Regions from separate parts of the Homo sapiens genome. Here region 2 is linked to region 1. The links are contacts of gene promoters, found by promoter capture Hi-C in human tissues and cell types (Jung and others, 2019). All regions are on one chromosome and are shown on one strand. Each heading gives the region's core, a stretch centred on a gene start or on the middle of the fragment in contact. The rest is flanking DNA. Distances are from core to core; before and after follow the strand shown.

Evidence for each region. The method cuts DNA at HindIII sites, captures the fragments that hold promoters and counts their contacts. A contact is called where the count stands out against the background at its distance.
Region 2: a contact is called between a fragment that was not itself captured here and the fragment with the promoter of TPRX1 in region 1, in 3 of the 25 tissues and cell types used here (dorsolateral prefrontal cortex, lymphoblastoid cells and mesenchymal stem cells).

The regions. Positions count from the first base shown.
Region 1 is chr19:47,801,934-47,807,048 of GRCh38, reverse strand. It overlaps TPRX1 (tetrapeptide repeat homeobox 1), which reads left to right and starts at 2,498. Exons shown (of 3, transcript NM_001397346.1): 1 at 2,498-2,534; 2 at 3,376-3,545; 3 at 4,069-5,115. The coding sequence starts at 2,510. The HindIII fragment of the contact is 58,136 bases long and covers 1-5,115 here.
Region 2 is chr19:47,983,949-47,988,609 of GRCh38, reverse strand. The region is part of intron 1 of BSPH1 (binder of sperm protein homolog 1); the gene reads left to right. Among named protein-coding and RNA genes, the nearest start is that of BSPH1, 5.9 kb to the left of the region's middle. The HindIII fragment of the contact is 7,096 bases long and covers 1-4,661 here.

The DNA of each region.
Region 1 (5,115 bases), core at 1,249-3,748:
CCTGTAATCCCAGCTACTTGGGCGACTGAGGCAGGAGTATCACTTGAACCCGGGAGATGGAGGTTGCAGCAAGCCGAGATCACACCACTACTGCACTCCAGCCTGGGTGACAGGGCAAGACGCCATCTCAAAAAAAAAAAATTAAATCGTCTTTAGTCTGTTTGCAGAGTTGTGCCTCCTTCACTACAGTCAATTTTAGAACATTTTTCACCGTCCCCAATAGCTATCTCCATAGCTATTCCCAGTTGGTCCCAATTTTCCCTTCTCCCCAACCCGTAGCAACCACTAATCTGCTTTCTGTCTCTATGGATTTGCCTATTCTGGACACTTTGTATAAATAGAATCGTATATGTGCTTTTGAGTCTGGCGTCTTTCACTCGGCATCATGTTGGCAAGGTTCATCCATGTTGTAGCACGTATCAGAGCTTTATTCCTTTTCATGGTTGAGTAATATCCCATTGTGTAAATATATGACATTTTGGGTTTCTATTTTTTGTGGGTTTTTTTGGGGGATGTTGTTTTGTTTTTTGAGGCAGAGTCTCCCTCTGTCACCCAGGCTGGAGTTCAGTGGCACCATCTCAGCTCCCTGCAACCTCTGCCTCCCGGGTTCAAGTGATTCTCCTACCTCAGCCTAACAAGTAGCTGGGATTACAGGCTCCCGCCACCATGCTTGGCTAATTTTTTGTATTTTTAGTAGAGACGGATTTTCACCATGTCGACCAAGCTGGCCTCAAACTCCTGACCTCAAGTGATTCGTCCACCTCAGCCTCCCAAAGTGCTGGGATTACAGGCGTGAGCCACCGTGCCCAGCCACTTTTATTTATTTTGAGATGGAGTCTCACTCTGTTGCCCAGGCTGGAGTACAGTGGCACAATCTCCACTCCCTGTAGCCTCCGCCTCCCGGGTTCAACCAATTCCCCCGCCTCAGCCTCCCAAGTAGCTGAAATTCAGGTGCTGGCCACCACGCCCAGCTAATTTTTGTATTTTTAGTAGACAGGGTTTCGCCATGTTGGCCAGGCTGGTCTTAAACTCCTGACCTCAGGTGATCTGCCTGCCTCAGCCTCCCAAAGTGCTGGGATTACAGGCGTGAGCCACCGCGCCTGGCCATGCAGCATTTTATTTATCCATGCATCAGTGGATCGATGTTTTCAGCATTTTCTCCTTTTGGGCGATAGTGAATCATGCTGCCGTGAACTTGCTTATATTTAAATGTCTATTTTCACAAAATAGTACCAGTGAGCTTGTTCATCTGTTTATGTCTTTATTGACCAAATAAATAGCCATGGTGCAAAATCTCTGTGGTCACTACTGTGTTCCCAGCATGTCCTGTAGATGAAGCCGGACAATGTGTGCGATGAGGAATCATTGCTGGGGATGCTGCTTTCTACAGCAGAACTCTAAGTAGCAGGTGAAAACAATGAGCGAGGCCCGTGGTAACAATGTCTACGTTTTATTGAATTTTGAAATTGATTGCATGAGTCATTTCTAGTTCCCTGCACCATGAGCCTTGTCAATCTCTCTAATCCCTGAACCCACGTGGGTCCTGCCATGGGGAAATGAGGACAGCCAGGTGTCTGACAGAGAAGACGCATCTCTGAGGGATCCGATCTCTGTAGACCAAGGTCATGGGTCCCCTGTATCATCAGCAGTAGGTTCATTCACTCACAAGGGCAGACCAGCAGCGGTCCATGGGCACGTCCATCAGACCTGTGCCCCCTCCTGATACAGGTCTATGCAGCTTGGAGAGGCTGGGCTCATGTGAACCCAGCACACGAGCCCCGTATATAAACTGGAATAAACCAGCACTGAGGTCATTTACTCTCCAGGAGAAACCAACAGAGGTCTATGTGAATGCCTATCAGAACTTCACCCCATAGGCAAATCCACTACAGAAACCAAACCATTATCAGCAGGGCCAATGTGTACTAAGCTCTGCTTACACCTATAGGCACCTAGGGAGCAATTTTTGGAATGGATAGTAGGGGCCAGAGTGGCCTTGAGGTACCAAAGAGGAGGTTGCAAGGTCATCCAGGAAGGAGGGATAGTGGCTGGACAAGGCAGGCAGCCCAGGAGCCAGGAGGAGTGGGTAGACTCACCGGCATTGGTCACTCGGGGCCCCAGCCCTGGGAAGGAACAAGGATGACTCCTGGGGGCTGGCTGGCGGTGCCTCTCCTGAGATGGGGACCCCAACCACAGGTCACGATGTTGACTCCCCCAACCAAACCCGCATGGAATGCCACCTCACCTGGGCTAGGGCCCATGAGGGTGAAACCAAGGCTGTGTTGTCCACTGAGGTTCTCCAGCTCCTAGCACAGCTCAGCAGGCAGTACCTGATCAGTGATGAAGGATTAATCCATCATTCAACTCCTCCAGGGGGCGGGACTGCAGGGCAGGGTGGGAAAGGGAGGGTCCCGGCAGGGTGGGCCAGGGTGGGCACAGCAGAGAAGTGATTTAAGAGCCAAGCCCTTGTCAGTACACACTTGTGTTTGGGAACAGATCAGGACTCAGGATGCAAGACCCTGGTCATCTCCAAGGTGAGCGGGGACAGAGGTGTGAGGGGTCTGGGCTGATCCTGTGGCTGAGGCTGCAGAGTGCAAATCTGGGCAGCCAGAGAAGGGCTGGGCCTGTGCGGGCGGCTTCCTGTCCTGCAGACGGGGGAGAACTTAGTGGTGTCTGGGAAATGAAAAATCATGCAGCTGGGTGTAGCGTCTCACGCCTGTGATCCCAGCTCTTTGGGAAGCCAAGGTGGGAGGATCACTTGAGCCCGGGACTCTGAAACCAGCCGAGCCAACATAGTGGAGACCCGTCTTTAGCAAAAATACAAAAATTACCCAGGGGTCGTGGTGCACACCTGTGGTCCCAGCTACTCGGGAGACTAAGGCGGGGGGTTCCTTGAGCCCAGGAAGTGGAGGCTGACTTGAGCCGTGATCACATCACTGCACTCCAGCCTGGGTGACAGAGCGAGATCCCCTCCAAGAAAAAGAAAGAAGGAAAGAAATTAAACCATGCAGTTGAGTGGAGCAGAGGACTGGGCAGGTGGCGGCTCCCCTGCAAGTGTCAGGGTCCCTATAACCCTTGGATGGGAGGGGACGGGGCAGCTGGGGAGGGTTGAGCAGGCCTGAGGCAGCCCCGTCTGCTCCGAGGTGAGGCGCCTACGCTGCCTGCCTTCCCAGGAGCTGTTATCGCGCCTATTTCCTAGATGTGGACCCTGAGGCCCAGAGAGGTGCAAGGTCTGGTCTGGATACCAGGCTGCTATCCGCGGTGCCGCCCCAGCCCACACTGCCTGGGCTCCTGGCCTGGTGCAGGGGACGGGGTCCCTAGGGGGGCTGGGGGCTGCCTGGGGGTTTCTGTGACCTGTTTCCCTCCCACCCCCAGGCCCTCCCCTGGCCCTGGACCCTCCAAGGAGACAGCGGCAGGAGCGCACGGTCTACACTGAAAGCCAGCAGAAAGTGCTAGAATTTTACTTTCAGAAGGACCAGTACCCGAACTACGACCAGCGACTGAATCTGGCGGAGATGCTCAGCCTCAGGGAGCAACAGCTGCAGGTCTGACCCCCACCCCCACCCTGCCCGCCCCAGTCACCCCAAGGAGCCTCCCCACCGCTGTCACTCACCGGGGCCTGGCCCGCCCGACCACCTCCCGCCCTGCCACGCAAGGGGTCCCGCCAGTGTAGACCAGGGCTGCATCCTGAGTCCTGTTCCAACTCTATGCTAGCCCAAACTCGCCCACATGATCGGCCCAGGCTGTCCCCCACGGGGTCTCCCGGTGCCCGGACCTCAGGCACCCGTGAGAACCCGCGGTCCCTCCCCTCGAACCCTCCCTGGCCCCCCGGGCACCTGGGCGGCAGACCCCGCTCCTCCCATCCCACCCCACCCTCCTCCCCCTACTTTTCCCTCCCTCTTCCCTCCATTCTCCAGGCCTTGGAGCCGGGGCCCTCTTTTGGTGGGGTGGGGGATGGGGGGCTGTTGAGCACAGGGAGAGGCTTCAGGCTGGCCCCGACCCCAAAAGGCTCACTGGGCCGCGCGAGCCCCTCCTTCACACCTTCTCCCTGTCCCCTCTGCCCCCCAGGTGTGGTTCAAGAATCGCCGCGCCAAACTAGCTCGGGAGCGGCGGCTCCAGCAGCAGCCCCAGCGCGTCCCTGGGCAGAGAGGCCGAGGAGCCCGCGCTGCGCCCCTAGTCCCTGCAGCCTCTGCCTCCGCACCTCAGCGGGGCCCCTCGGGAATCCTTCCAGCGGCGGAACCCACGATCTGCAGCCTCCACCAGGCCTGGGGTGGCCCTGGGTGCAGAGCCCAGAAGGGCATCCCAGCTGCCCTGAGTCCAGGCCCTGGCCCGATCCCTGCCCCAATCCCAGGCCCAGCCCAGATCCCAGGCCCACTCCCTGGCTCAATTCCAGGCCCAATTCCAGGCCCAGCTCAGATCCCAAGCCCGATCCCAGCCCCAATCCCAGGCCCAATTTCAGGCCCAGTCCAGATCCCAGGCCCATTCCGTGGCCCAATCCCAGGCCCAATTTCAGGCCCAGCCCCGATCCCAGGCCCAATCTCAGGCCCATTCTCAGGCCCAAACCCAGGCCCGATCCCAGGCCCAAACCCAGGCCCGATCCCAGGCCCAATCTCAGGCCCGATCCCAGGCCCAATCTCAGTCCCGATCCCAGGCCCGATCCCAGGCCCAATCTCAGGCCCAATCTCAGGCCCAAACCCAGGCCCGATCCCAGGCCCAATCCCAGGCCCAATCTCAGGCCCGAACCCAGGCCCGATCCCAGGCCCAATCTCAGGCCCGAACCCAGGCCTGATCCCAGGCCCAATCCCAGGCCCAATCTCAGGCCCAGGCCCAATTATAGGCCCGATTCCCAGCCCAGCCCAGATCCCAGGCCCAGGCAGACTCCAAGGCCCAGGTCCCATCTTAAGTCCTGGCCGGATGCGAAGCCCTGGCTCACTTCCAGGCCTAGCCCCGATTTTAGGCCCAGGCTCAGGCCCAGGCTCAGGCTCAGTCCCAGCTCCAATCCCAGGCCCAGGATCACTCCCAGCCCCAGCCCCCTTATGGCCTCAGAGCCCCGATGCCTCCGACTTCTTGCCAGACACCCAGTTATTCCCTCACTTCACAGAGCTGCTCCTACCC
Region 2 (4,661 bases), core at 891-3,390, 180 kb before region 1:
GCCATTATTATTTAAAGAGGATGAGGAGGAACCATGGCTAAGAGCTCTCATGCACCCCCACTCACCAAGAACTGAAGGCTCCTCTCGCCTCCTCTGTCCCACTCAACTCTGCTCCTGGCAAGCTCAGGAGACCAGTTTTCCCTCCAGCATCTCCGGGTTCCAACCAAGCTTAGCCTGTGGCCTCAAGCAAGACTTTGAGTCCTGGATGTCTGTGAGTTCCCACATCTGAAACAGGAGGATCGTGATTCTTGCTGACTCCCAGGGTTGCTGGAAGATTAAATGGGTTAGCATGCGTGACGCTCAGAACAGAACTGTTATCATTAAGTCATTATTACTACTATTATAGTACCAAAAGTACTATTACAGTATTAAAGAGGCAGGATAAGGGTTTGGATTTAGTAGTCGATACTCACAGAGTGAGTTTAACTACTTTAAACTTCTCATACAAGTGGAATCGTGCAATATTTGTCCTTCTGTGAATGGTTTGGTTCACTTAGCATAATGTCCTCCAGGTTCATCCATGTTACTGAAAACGGCAGGATTTTCTCTTTTTTTAATTTTTAAAATTTTTCTGATTTTGTAATTTTTATTTTTATTTTATTTTATTTGTTTTTGAGACAAGGGCTCACTCTGTCACCCAGGCTGGAGTGCAGTGGTGTGATCTCAGCACACTGCAACCTCCGCCTCCCGGGACTGAAGTAATTAATCCTCCAACTCAGCCTCCCAGTACGGGAACCACAGGAGCACACCACCATGCCCAGCTAATTTTTTTGTAATTTTGGTAGAGATAAGATTTCGCCAAGTTGCCCAGGCAGGTCTCAAACTCCTGAGCTCAAGCGATCTGCCCACCTCCGCCTTCCAAAGTGCTGTGAGCCACCACACCCAGCCCTGCCTAAAGGTTCTTTGATCAAGGTTGTTTTGACCTAAGGGCAGGATCAATAGTAAAGACAAGCTCTGGCCATGCATAGTTCAAGGTGGGAGGATTGCTTGAGCCCAGGAATTCGAGACCAGCCTGGGAAACATAGTGGGACCTAGTCTCTACAGCAACTTTTGAAAATTAGCCAGCTATGGTAGTGTGTGCCTGTAGTTCCAGCTACTTGGGAGGCTGAGGCAAGAGAATCACTTGAGCCTGGGAAGTCAAGCCTGCAGTGAGCTATGACAGCGCCACTGTACTCCAACCTGGGTGACAGAGTGAGATTCTGTCTCCAAAAAAAAAAAAAAAAAGTAAGTACTAAGTACATGTAGTACGTGTTCTTACACAAAGAACAGTAGATAAAATAGAAATTGTAGGGACATTCCGAGGACGGGGTTAATCAGAAACCAACACGGCGAATTAGCACCCAAGACAGAGGTGTTTTAGCCTCCACAAACTGGATTGTCTAGTGACACTCAAATTCTTCGTCTTCATCCTCACTGTCTGGGGTTGCATTGCATAGTGTCCTTCCAGAATTCATGTTTACCAGAGATCTGTGAATATGACTGTATTTGAAATAGGTCCTTGCAGATGTCGGTAATTAAGATGTAGTCACAATGGATACGGGTTGGCCCTAATCCAATGACTGGTATCTTTATAAGAAGAGGAAACAGACACACACAGGGAAGACAAGCACGCATAGTCACAAGAAAAGATTAAAGTGATGCTGCCACAAGTCACAGAATGCCACAGCTTGCCAGCAGCCACCAAAAGCAAGGAGAGAGGCATGGAATAGTTTCTGCCTCTGAGCTCCTAAGAAGGAACCAACCCTGGCATTTTGGCCTTCTGGCCTCCAGATCTGTGAGACAATAAATGTCTATTGCTCTAGACCAAACAGTCTATGGTACTTTGTCTAGATTTTTTTTATTTTTATTTTATTTTATTTTATTTTTAGATAGGGTCTCATTCTGTCACCCAGGCTGGAGTGCAGTGGCACAATCACGGCTCACTGCAGTCTTGACCTCCCAGGCTCAAGTGATCCTCTTGCCTCAGCCTCCCAAGTAGCTGGGACTACAGGTGCACGCCACCATGCCCAGCTAATTTTTGTGTCTTTATTTATTGCAGAGATGGGGTCTTGCTATGTTGCCCAGGCTGGTCTCGAACTCCTGGGTTCAAGCAGTCCTCCTGGCTCAGCCTCCAAAAGTGCTGGGATTACAAGCGTAAATCACCATGCCTGACCAGTAAAATTCTACAGCACAAAACCAAGGAAGAAGCAATCACAGAGGCCACGCGGCTCTCCTGTCTGGGGGATGAGCCTCCCATGGTTTGGTACCCAAGGACCCCAACTCCTCCCCATTCATTGTTATTGCTCTTCACCAGTGCTCTTCCAGGCCTTCTGACATTCTCTAGATTCGTAAGTTTTGTCTTCTATCTTGTGCTGTATTCCATTGAACATAGAATGGAACAGCAAGTGCAGCACTTTGGGAAGACTCCTGACCCAGCTCTTGAACCCAAACAAGAATCTTGGCCAAGTTAGGATCGTAGGACTACCATGTAGCAGGCTACAGCAATTCCCCACGATAGGGAGGCCACTGCAGCTTTTTTTCCCTAGTCTGTTCGACCAGCTTCCCCAGACTCCTCCCTCCTCTGGGGCTCCGTAGCTTGGAAGAATAAAGTCTGATAAACTATATCCTCCTGCGGGCAACTGCAAGAATGCCAATATATGCTGTTGACGATGCTGAAATTCACTGCTCATCCTCTGGAAAAGTGATCGGGTTCAGGGGACTTCATAAGCTCCTGAACACATTTCACATGCTTTCATTTTATTTACATTCACTTATTCTTTTCCTTTTTTTTTTTTCTAGACAAAGTCTTGCCCTGTCACTCAGGCTGGAGTGTAGTGGTGTGATCTCAGCTCACTGCAACCTCCACGTCCCAGGTTCAAGTGATTCTCCTGCCTCAGCTGCCTCAGTAGCTGGGATTATAGGCGCACACCACCATGCCCAGCTAATTTTTGTATTTTTAGTAGAGACAGGGTTTCACCATGTTGGCCAGGCTGGTCTCGAACTCCTGACCTCAGGTGATCTGCCCGCCTCGGCCTCCCATAGTGCTGGGATTACAGGTGTGAGCCACCATGCCGGGCCTACTTACTCTTTTTCTAATGTGCTTCCTCTCTTTATATCTCTGAAGAACTTTTAACATTTCTTTCAAGGCAGGTTTTCTGGTAGCAAATTCCCTCAATGTTTGTTTGTCTGAGAATCTTTGTCTTTCTTTCTCCTTCACTTCTGAAGAATAATTTTGCAGGGTACAGAATTCTAGATTGAAGACTTTTTTTTCTCTCAACACTGTAAATGCTTCATTCTTATCTTCATGGTTTCTGGAAAGAAGTTGGACATAATTCTTATCTTTGCTTCTCTGTAGGTAAGGTATTTTTCCCCCTCTGGCTTCTTTCAAAAGATTTTTCTTTTAAAAAATTTTATTTTAGATGCAGGAGGTACATGTGCAGATTTGTTACATGAGTATGTTGCATAAATGGTGAGGTTTGGGATTCAATTGAAGCCATTACCCAAATAATGAACATAGTGCCCAGTAGGCAGTTTTCTTTTTCTTTTTCTTTCTTTTTTTTTTTTTTTCAGACAGAGTCTTGTATTGCCCAGACTGGAGTGCAGTGGTGCGATCTTGGCTCACTGCAACCTCTGCCTCCCAGGTTCAAGCGATTCTCCTGCCTCAGCCTCCTGAGTAGCTGGGATTACAGGCGCCCACCACCATGTCCGGCTAATTTTTAGTAGAGACGGGATTTCATCATGTTGGCCAGGCTGGTCTTGAACTCCTGACCTCATGATCAGTCCACCTCAGCTTCCCAAAGTGCTGGGATTACAGGCATGAGCCACTGCACCCGGCCATCAATAGTTGGTTTCCAAGCCTGGGTCCCCTCCTTACCTCCCCACTTTTGTAATCCCCAGTGCCTATTGTTCCCATCTTTGTGTCCCTGTGCACCCAATGTTTAGTTCCCACTTATAAGTGAGAACATGTGGTATTTGGTTTTCTGTTTCTGCACTAATTTGCTTAGGCTAATGGCCTCCAGCTGCATCCATGTTGCTAAAAAGGACATGATTTTGTTCTTTGTTATGGCTGCATAAAACAATTTCGATTTGGGTTTAACTGAAAAAATGAGACTCATTTTTATTTCAAATAAGGGTATTTTTAAAACCTTATATATTATAACAGAATTTAGCTTGAATTATGACCAAAGGTGAATTCTTGAGAATGAAAAGAATTGGGATGCAGGACTTTCCTGACAAAATTGTTACGATTTTCCAGTGCATAGCTTTGTCTTCTTCCATTCTACACTTTCCTCAAAGGGTCATAAAGAAAGCCAGTTTTGTATAAGTATTCTAAGACTAATTCTAGGACTATATTAATTTTTAGGGGCCCTTCTTAATCCTTTGAATTTAAAAATATATAATATATATATTTATATTTTATGTATAATATACATATTATATATATTTATATTATATATATATATATATTTTTTTTTTTTTCTTCAAGCCAGGCATGGTGGCTTACACCTGTAATCCCAGCACTTTGGGAGGCCGAGGTGGGTGGATCACCTGAGGTCAGGAGTTTGGGACCAGCCTGACCAACATGGCAAAACCCTGTCTCTACTAAAAATACAAGAATTAGCCAAGTAAAAATACAGGTGGTGGTGCACACCTGTAGTCCCAGCTACTTGGGAGGCAGAGGC